Linked DNA regions of Homo sapiens: all the other regions are linked to region 3. The links are contacts of gene promoters, found by promoter capture Hi-C in blood cells and fetal thymus (Javierre and others, 2016). All regions are on one chromosome and are shown on one strand. The core of a region is centred on a gene start or on the middle of the fragment in contact, and the rest is flanking DNA. Distances in the headings are between cores, read along the strand shown.

Region 1 (2,700 bases), core at 47-2,546, 1.7 Mb before region 3:
AGCTACTTCAATTTCCCAGTTGATGGAGCTGGTTTGGGTGGAGCCTGGCCTTGCTTTCTTTTCTCTCCTTGAATTACAAAAAAACTTTGTATTTGTGCAACACATTCTTCTTTTTAGGTGAGCTAAAAGTTACATAGCTTTCTGTTCCTAATAATCAAAACTCTTCATTAGGACATTCATTTTGGCAGAAATCGCTGAAAAAGAAGGTAATGGCCAAATATGTGATAAATTCCTTGTCCCGGGGACCCACACATTGAATTTGGTAGTATCAACAAAATGTGGAAACAGGTGGATAAGTAAGTGCAAATTTCAGAATTTCACAGCTAATTCTAGTCACTGTCCCTAAGAACCCATGTACAATATCACTTCCTCCAGCAGTGGATCGGTTGGGCTCTATACCACTTTACCTAGCATGTACCTACTAAATATGTTTCAGTGGTAATATATAAGGAAAGGCAAGGAAGTGACTAGACTGTTTATTTTGTGAAAAAAATCACTGAAATGAATTTGGTGTTGAGCACTTTTCTGTATGCATTATATCACACTTGAAGATAAATATACCCATTAAACAGAATAAAATCAGTTAACAGAGTCAAAGTCAAGGTCTCTCTGCTTTTATGGTAGCTATTTTATAGTAGGAAGAAAAGGAGCACACATCAGCTTCAATTCTATCTGGTTGCTGGATCCTCCCCATAATCCATAGTTAGATGAAATTCAATTTTGTTGGTAACTAGTTGTAATCTAACTATAGGGTGGCTGTTCTTTCATTTCTGGCTTCTCTATGGCAAGTTACACAAAGCTTCAACTTGCTCATCATTTTCAGTTTCATTCAAGCTTAAATGTAATATGGAAACCTTCAAAAGTAAAAAGTCATGTTGCTACGGGACCAGAATCATCTCTAATAGATAGGTTGTAAGAATCGGTTACCATCTATAAGGCACATTTTGTTAAAAATGTTGCATCTTATTTGTAACCCCCAAATACATTAATCTGTAATCAAACTAGGAATGCAAACATGGGCTCCTCAAAACACTGAAAAAAAAAATCAGGATAATCTGATTCTCACTAAGTACTTTTCAATCTCACACTGCATTTACTCTTACTTTGAAAAAGTCATTTTTTTAAAACAGCTGAATTGATTTTTAAAAAATATTCCTTGTTTCTAACAGTTATCTGATGCTTTCATGCTCAATAATAATAAGAGAGGAGGGGGTAGAGGGAGGATAAGGAAGGAAGTAGCAGCAGCGGGAGGAGGAGAAGGGAAAGTTAATGGCTAACATGTTGGACTGCTTACTATATACCACGTATGCTTTTCACAGCTATTGATGTACTATTATTCCACTTTGCCCTCACACAATCTTTTGATGTTGGTGATCACAGCAGCTATTGTTCAAAGTGCTGGACAGTGCCTAGAGGGGCACTGTCTTAAACCACCACTGCTCTGGGGAGGCCCAGGAGGACAGTGCAGGCTCCAGGACTAGGTGTGCTCGGTTCCAGTCCTGACCATCAGCCACTTATACCTGCTGTGCAACCTTGGGGAAGTCACTTAATCTCTCTATGGCTCAGTTTCCTCATCTGTAATATCAAAAACAATAGCATCTGCTTCTGAGGTACTATTGTCTCGCTGGGCTTATAAATGTTAATTATTATTATAACACATGCTTTAATTGAAACATGAATTAGCATCTACTGTATATTATACTTTCACATATGCATAGAAAATATGCAAACAGGAGGGGAAATATAAGCATATCACGTTGAAGCTTTCAAATTTCACATTGAAGCTTTCAAATTTCAGCATTATTTTGGTTTTTAGCTCCACCCCTATAGTCTACAGCAATGCCTGGCACATAGTTAGCACTCAATAAATACTTTTGAGTGAAAGAATGAATGAATAAATGAATAAACAATTTTGATAACTAAAATTGGGAATATGGGCATGAAACAGAGAAAAGTTCATTAAAGTGTTTCAAATTCTAATCAAAAGATATTCTTTTTCTGACACGAGGAAAGAGATCATTTCTTTTCCCATTAAGTGGTGGAAGTTTTCAGCAAAAGGGAATTGTCTAGCAGGACTTTAATGAGCCCAAACCAAATAAATATCTACAGGGGCACATGAAGAAACACACATTTAAAAAGGAGAAATTTTCTTTGGAAATAAAGGCAAAATTAATTAGCACTTCCTCTTAAATATACCAAAAATATGAGACAAATGTGTCTACTGAATATTATAGTATGCTTTTAATAACACTAAAATTTTATGTTTAACCCTGGCACTGACTGCAATGAGAAGGTTCTTTTAAAGTTTCCCTCAAAATGCTAAAGGCATGAGTCAATACTTTCACATAGGCATAGAACATATGCAAACAGAGGGGAAATATAAGCATATCACCTGAGGGAAAAGCAGGCTGCCCCAGAGGGCCTCCCAGGACAGCACTCATGACCACGTCCTCCTTGGCCTTGCTACCACCACACCTCATTCTCAGGACATCAAGAGCAGCTCTCTCTCTCTCTTCTCTATTTCCTTATACATCTCCCTCCCCTCAATCAAGGCATAAGGCAAATATCTAAATCCCAAGTGCTGATTTATCAACTGACTATGTAAAATAAAAACTGTTGCTGAGTCTAACACATTCAGGTTGGCAAAACTGCTGCATTTTCTCCTTCTATATCCATAATTACATTAAGGAGTAAAATCAC
Region 2 (2,700 bases), core at 183-2,682, 1.7 Mb before region 3:
ATTCATACTACGAACCAATTAATGTTTTTAAATATATATAGCAATACTTAGCTTATACTTACGTGTGTAATATAAAACTCTGCAGCTATGCATAAAAAACACACTCTCCAGCCTTGAGAAAGTAAGAAAAAGGGACTTTTACATTTCACATAATAACCTGCAGGGCTATGTAAATTTTCTTTCTAAAGTAACCAAATATTACTTTTGTAAAATTTGTAAACAATATTTTTTCAAAAACCCTGAATACACAATTGGCGTTTATTCATCTTGTAATCTCACGATACTGTTCAATTAAATAGGTCCAGTAAGTTCAAAAGAGGTAAAGCAAGTTTTTTCACAAGTTGAATTCCTATCAATACCCAACAACTCCTCATATTCCTTACCATAAATATGTTAGAAAAACACTGAAAACTTCCAGTAAATACTAAAACTAAAACTAATGTGGTATTTTCAATTTCTTACTACTCTTAAAATTATTTTTACTCAATTATTCTGGACAGGCACATTCAACTGACATGCTCAAGACTGTACTATTCTTGTACAATTGTTTGTGGACAGTGACACATATATTACAATTCAACGACAGGCCAGGTATAACTGAAGTTCAAATATGCACTACATGTACTATTCATTCATTCACACATTTGACAAATATTTACCGAGTGCCCACTATGGGTCAAGGACTGTGCTAGGCACTGGAAATACAACAGAATAAGAAAGACAAGGTCTCTGACCTCCTGAAACATTTTCTACTGGGAAAAAAGTTAGTAAAAATTTTATTCTGATGTGTCATGTGTTACTCTGGCACCACAAGTTAACATATTAGTGATGACGAATGTCCTTACATTTGGGATTAAAAAAAATGGCATGTGCATGGTTGTTTTCTGGTGTTTTTTGTTTGGTTTTGGGCTTTTTGCCATGAAAAACTTAATTTTATTGTCTCTTTGAATGACACAGCTCAACCTCTAGTTAGAGCATATACTGCCTTATGTTTTTAAATAGCATTTTATATTCATTCATTAAGAAAAAAAATTATTTTTTAGAGTACTTTTAGGTTTACAGCAAAATTGAGAGTACAGTACAGACATATCCCATACCCCTCCTGTGCTGACACACACATAGCTTCCCCCACTGTCAACATCCCCCACCAGAGCGGTACATCAGTTACAAGAGATGAATCTACACGGTTTGATAAATTAAAGTTCATTATTAAGAAAACAATGGGACTTCAAAGAACTGTGTAATTGTGGAAGCATCTCTGTGAAACTATTCTCAGGAAGGCAGAAGGCTGGAGAAGAAACGGCTGGGGCCACATAAAAGCTAAAATGCACTGAATAAAGCTTACTCTGTACCAGTCAATGTACTGAGAGCACGTTAAATGTATTATTTCACATAAACTTCCCAGTAACTCCAGTTGAAGCATTATCTCCACTTTGAGATAAGACAGCAAACTTAGATAGGCTAAGTAAGTTGCCCAAAGTCACTCAGTTGAAAGATGGCAGAAACTGGAAACCTGAACTGAGCCGAAGCTTTTAACCCAAGCAGGGTCTTGAATGGCAGTAGGCCTCTGAAGCCACAGTAGAGAGATGCACCATTGTATATTTAATCTTGCAGGCAGTGTGAATGGAGGTTTAGAAGATTCTCAAGGAGAGCAATAAGTAAATAACCTCATTAAGTCTGATTATAGAGCCCAACTTTAGGAAGATAACTTGATCCACAGTGTGTGTAATGACCTGAACCAGGGAGCAACTGAAGTCAGTGGTATCAATTAAGAAGGAGTAAAGGGGTTCACGTAAACTTCAAATGCTTCAAAGCTAAGAACTTGCTGAACGGAGACTACAACACAGCCTCCTGATATCCTCCTCCCCAGGGAATTTTATTTCCATTAAACCAAGATGTCAAAGACTTGTGAATAAGAAATTGGTGAACTGTACATCACAACCAAACACATTTACCCATCATCTAGTAGAATAATGTTTTCTAAACTGTGTTAGACGGAGAACAACCACGCAGGGTGCAGAGATGCTGCTGAGCCTGAGCTGGACTGAGAAAATCTAACGGATGTGCTGGGACTGCCAGGAAACACCCCAGCCTCCTCCTGGAAAAACTGAACAGCCCAATTAGAACTGCCTTGGAAAGGAAAGGAAAGAGAAAAGGAAAGGAAAGGGAATTCTGGGGACTCTAAAACACCTTGGTTGTTTCCTTCATTAAATAAACAGTACATTTTTAGTTTCAAACACTTAACTTACTATACATGTGATGCTACAATTTTCACTCTTACCACAGTTAACTCAGCAATTGAGAATTATTTTGGGGGGTTTCCGAAGGGGCTTAGAATGTGGTATGAATGGGAGCGAAGCGTGAGTGAGAAATATTAGGTAAGAAATAGAAAAACTCCTTTCCTATACATATATTTGGAAGGGAGCACTGAACTCTATGTTTCCAACCTTACTGCACTTAACTCTTATGGCCTTACCTTAAGGATGGATCTAAAATCCATCCCTTAGGTGGCTTCAGGTCAATCATCGCTATTCTGCTAGTATTTTATGACTTCTCCATATATGGTAGAAAGAATAATGCCCCCTCCCCCTACAAAGACATCCACATCCTAATCTCTAGAATTTGTGAATATGTTACCTTCCGTGGCAAAGGAGAATTAACTTTGCAGGTGGAATTAAGATTGCTAATCAGCTGATCTTA
Region 3 (2,731 bases), core at 113-2,612:
TATAGACCATACATGCTTTACATGGCCAGCCAGGAAATGATAGGAGGTGGCTGGCTGCAGTTACTGTGAAATGATAAGTTCACATATTTGTGTGTTAGAAGATGCTTACTGTAAGCCTCCTATGGAAGTGTTCAATTTCTTTGGCAAAATTTTATGCTATCTATGCCAATGTTGGATAAATAGATTAACTTGCTGCTTTGTGTTTGTATGCTTGCAGACAAAATTGTGTTATTGATCTTGGGTATCAAGGTGAATTTGTCAGAGTAATGGGTGTTTTTTTTTTTTTTTTTTCTCTTAAACAGTGGCTGGCTAACAATCAAAAATAGGTTTTGGTAATGTTGGGTAACGTTGCTCAAATACGGCTATATTATGCAGAGCACATGGCAATCGTTGAAGAGTAAAACACAGATAATTCCACTTCTTTGTAGTGTGCTTGACACAGGTTTGCAGCAGTATTGCATCATCTATAAGCATTACATATGGCTGTCCTTTCATCTTACTAAATTATTTGCCAGCAGATCTAATAGATGGGCTGAGATAGTGAGCATGAACAAAAGAATGTTTCTCTTCTCCAGGATATTCTCTACTTTTTGTTACTTAAGTATCTATGTAATAGCATTTGACATACAGCCAAACACCAGGGCAGCCCCATTTAAGGTTTTTGATACACTGAGGATCATTCAGAAAACTTCGGATTCCTAGTTATAGAGTTGAATCCAACCACCAACACACTCCAGAAGTCCTGACATTAGGAAAAGAGATGGCCACCATCTTTCACCCACTTCAAGTCCTGTAAGGATGATCTAGAATCTACACTGTGCCAACTAGCATCCAGGCACACATCAACCTGCCCGGACTACCAAATGCAGAAACAAGCCCAGTAGCAGCAGCTGCTCCGAGCTTGCCCACACACCTGCATCCTAGTGGCAGACAAATATCCTGGAAGCCTTTGTGTCCACACACTCATACCTACATGACATACACTTAGAGGAAAAGATCTGAATATTCTTATTCACAAGAACAGAGGCCTGAATACAGGAACACTATGCTCACGTACACACAAAAGACACGCATGGAATAAAGCATTTTGCATATCCAGTCTTGCGCACTTACACTTTCAGGTCCTGCACAAGACCCCTGGACATCGGTTTGCTTTTCTTTGAGCCATTCACAAACTAGTTCCTCGTTCCTGGGACCGTCCCTAGTGTGGATAAAAGCCAACTTCCCACAGTCTTTGTCGGTCTTTTCAACTTTTCTCTGCTCTCGCTCAACTCCCAGAGGGCCGGGTGGCGCCGGCCAGCCGACGTCCCAGCGGTGGCCTCCCCGCCCAGCCGCTGTGCAGCGGGGCGGGGCCGAACTGGCAGCCAGGAAATGCCCTGGAGTGTGTGTCACCTGTCCAGGACGACTTGTTGATTCCCAGGAGGGCCGCCTTTCCGGTCTGGGTCCCCGAGAGGACTGCCTTGCTCACCTGTCCCCTCGGCGCGGCCCCGGGGAGCTCCCGAGAGGCCCCCGGGATCGCTGGCCCTCCGAACTCCACAGCAATGAGCAAGTTGGGCAAGTTCTTTAAAGGGGGCGGCTCTTCTAAGAGCCGAGCCGCTCCCAGTCCCCAGGAGGCCCTGGTCCGACTTCGGGAGACTGAGGAGATGCTGGGCAAGAAACAAGAGTACCTGGAAAATCGAATCCAGAGAGAAATCGCCCTGGCCAAGAAGCACGGCACGCAGAATAAGCGAGGTAGGCTGGGGTCTGGCCCACAGGCGGGAGCCCATCTGCCTCTAGCCTTTCCCTTGGGGACAATCGGCCCACACCACTGAGGTCCCCAGGTGGCCAGGTTTGCTCCTGCAGTCTTTTCTAGGAACTGGTACTGACTCTTAGGGCACTGACTAGGGTGAGTTGAGCTAGACACTGGCACTGATGGCAAAATGTAAGGGGCCGCCAAAAATCTCAGTAATCAAGATGAACAATACTTTAATGCAATACCTAAAGGACTCAGAACCAATGCCAAAAAAGAAATGATGAAGAAAATATCAAAATTTTAAATAAAGACAAGATTGGTATTGATTTTTTTCATTTGCCTCTAGCTCTTATGTTGTTATGTGCAGCACATCTTTATTTAAAATTATTTTTTATAATGTGATGATTTGTTCATCGTGGATTTTTTAATATTAATTTTGAATTTTAAAAATATTGCATTAAAATATTATTTGTCTTGATTACTGAGTGTTTTCGCACCCCTGTAAATTTTGCTCCTGGTCCAGCTTTTTCTAGGCCAGCCTTGCTGACTCCAACACTAACCATGAAGTTTTCTGCTGTATGTTTGTATATTAAATTACACATTTTAACTTGCACGTAAATCTTCAGAAAAGGATATTCTAGTACGTTGTGGTCTACCTTGCTCCTCAGCTGTGGAAAGCTTTAGCTGGATGTTCGGCAGTTGAAGTCTTAAAAAAAAAAAAGGTAGAGGAATTAATTATTAAATTTCCTATCACTGACTTTTGGCACACACAAGAGACTTTGAGTCAGTAATGATTCTTGGTGTTCCTGTTGCACCTTGAACACCTGTTCTTTGCCAGAGTTAACTGATTTCTTCAGTATACTGCTCCTTCTATTGGAATACCTCTAAACAGCACCTGTGGCACAGATAAAAACTCAGTGAGAAGTTGAAGTGATTTGCTCTTGTAACACCGGGTTCATGGCAGACCCAGAAAAGGAAGTGGCAATATCGGACTCTGCT

What was found. The method cuts DNA at HindIII sites, captures the fragments that hold promoters and counts their contacts. A CHiCAGO score of 5 or more calls a contact.
Region 1: a fragment that was not itself captured here is called in contact with the fragment with the promoter of CHMP4C in region 3 in 1 of 17 cell types (activated CD4 T cells); the score reaches 7.2 in activated CD4 T cells.
Region 2: a contact is called between a fragment that was not itself captured here and the fragment with the promoter of CHMP4C in region 3, in 5 of 17 cell types (total CD4 T cells, activated CD4 T cells, non-activated CD4 T cells and 2 more). The highest score is 7.2, in total CD4 T cells.

Annotation. Positions count from the first base shown.
Region 1 is chr8:80,045,706-80,048,405 of GRCh38, forward strand. The region is part of intron 4 of TPD52-MRPS28 (TPD52-MRPS28 readthrough); the gene reads right to left. All of the region lies in intron 5 of TPD52 (tumor protein D52), which reads right to left. Among named protein-coding and RNA genes, the nearest start is that of MRPS28, 17 kb to the left of the region's middle. The HindIII fragment of the contact is 929 bases long and covers 833-1,761 here.
Region 2 is chr8:80,025,891-80,028,590 of GRCh38, forward strand. All of the region lies in intron 5 of TPD52-MRPS28 (TPD52-MRPS28 readthrough), which reads right to left. All of the region lies in intron 1 of MRPS28 (mitochondrial ribosomal protein S28), which reads right to left. Among named protein-coding and RNA genes, the nearest start is that of MRPS28, 3.0 kb to the right of the region's middle. RefSeq lists a silencer at 504-798. The HindIII fragment of the contact is 189 bases long and covers 1,339-1,527 here.
Region 3 is chr8:81,731,086-81,733,816 of GRCh38, forward strand. It overlaps CHMP4C (charged multivesicular body protein 4C), which reads left to right and starts at 1,363. Exons shown (of 5, transcript NM_152284.4): 1 at 1,363-1,731. The coding sequence starts at 1,542. The HindIII fragment of the contact is 11,241 bases long and covers 1-2,408 here.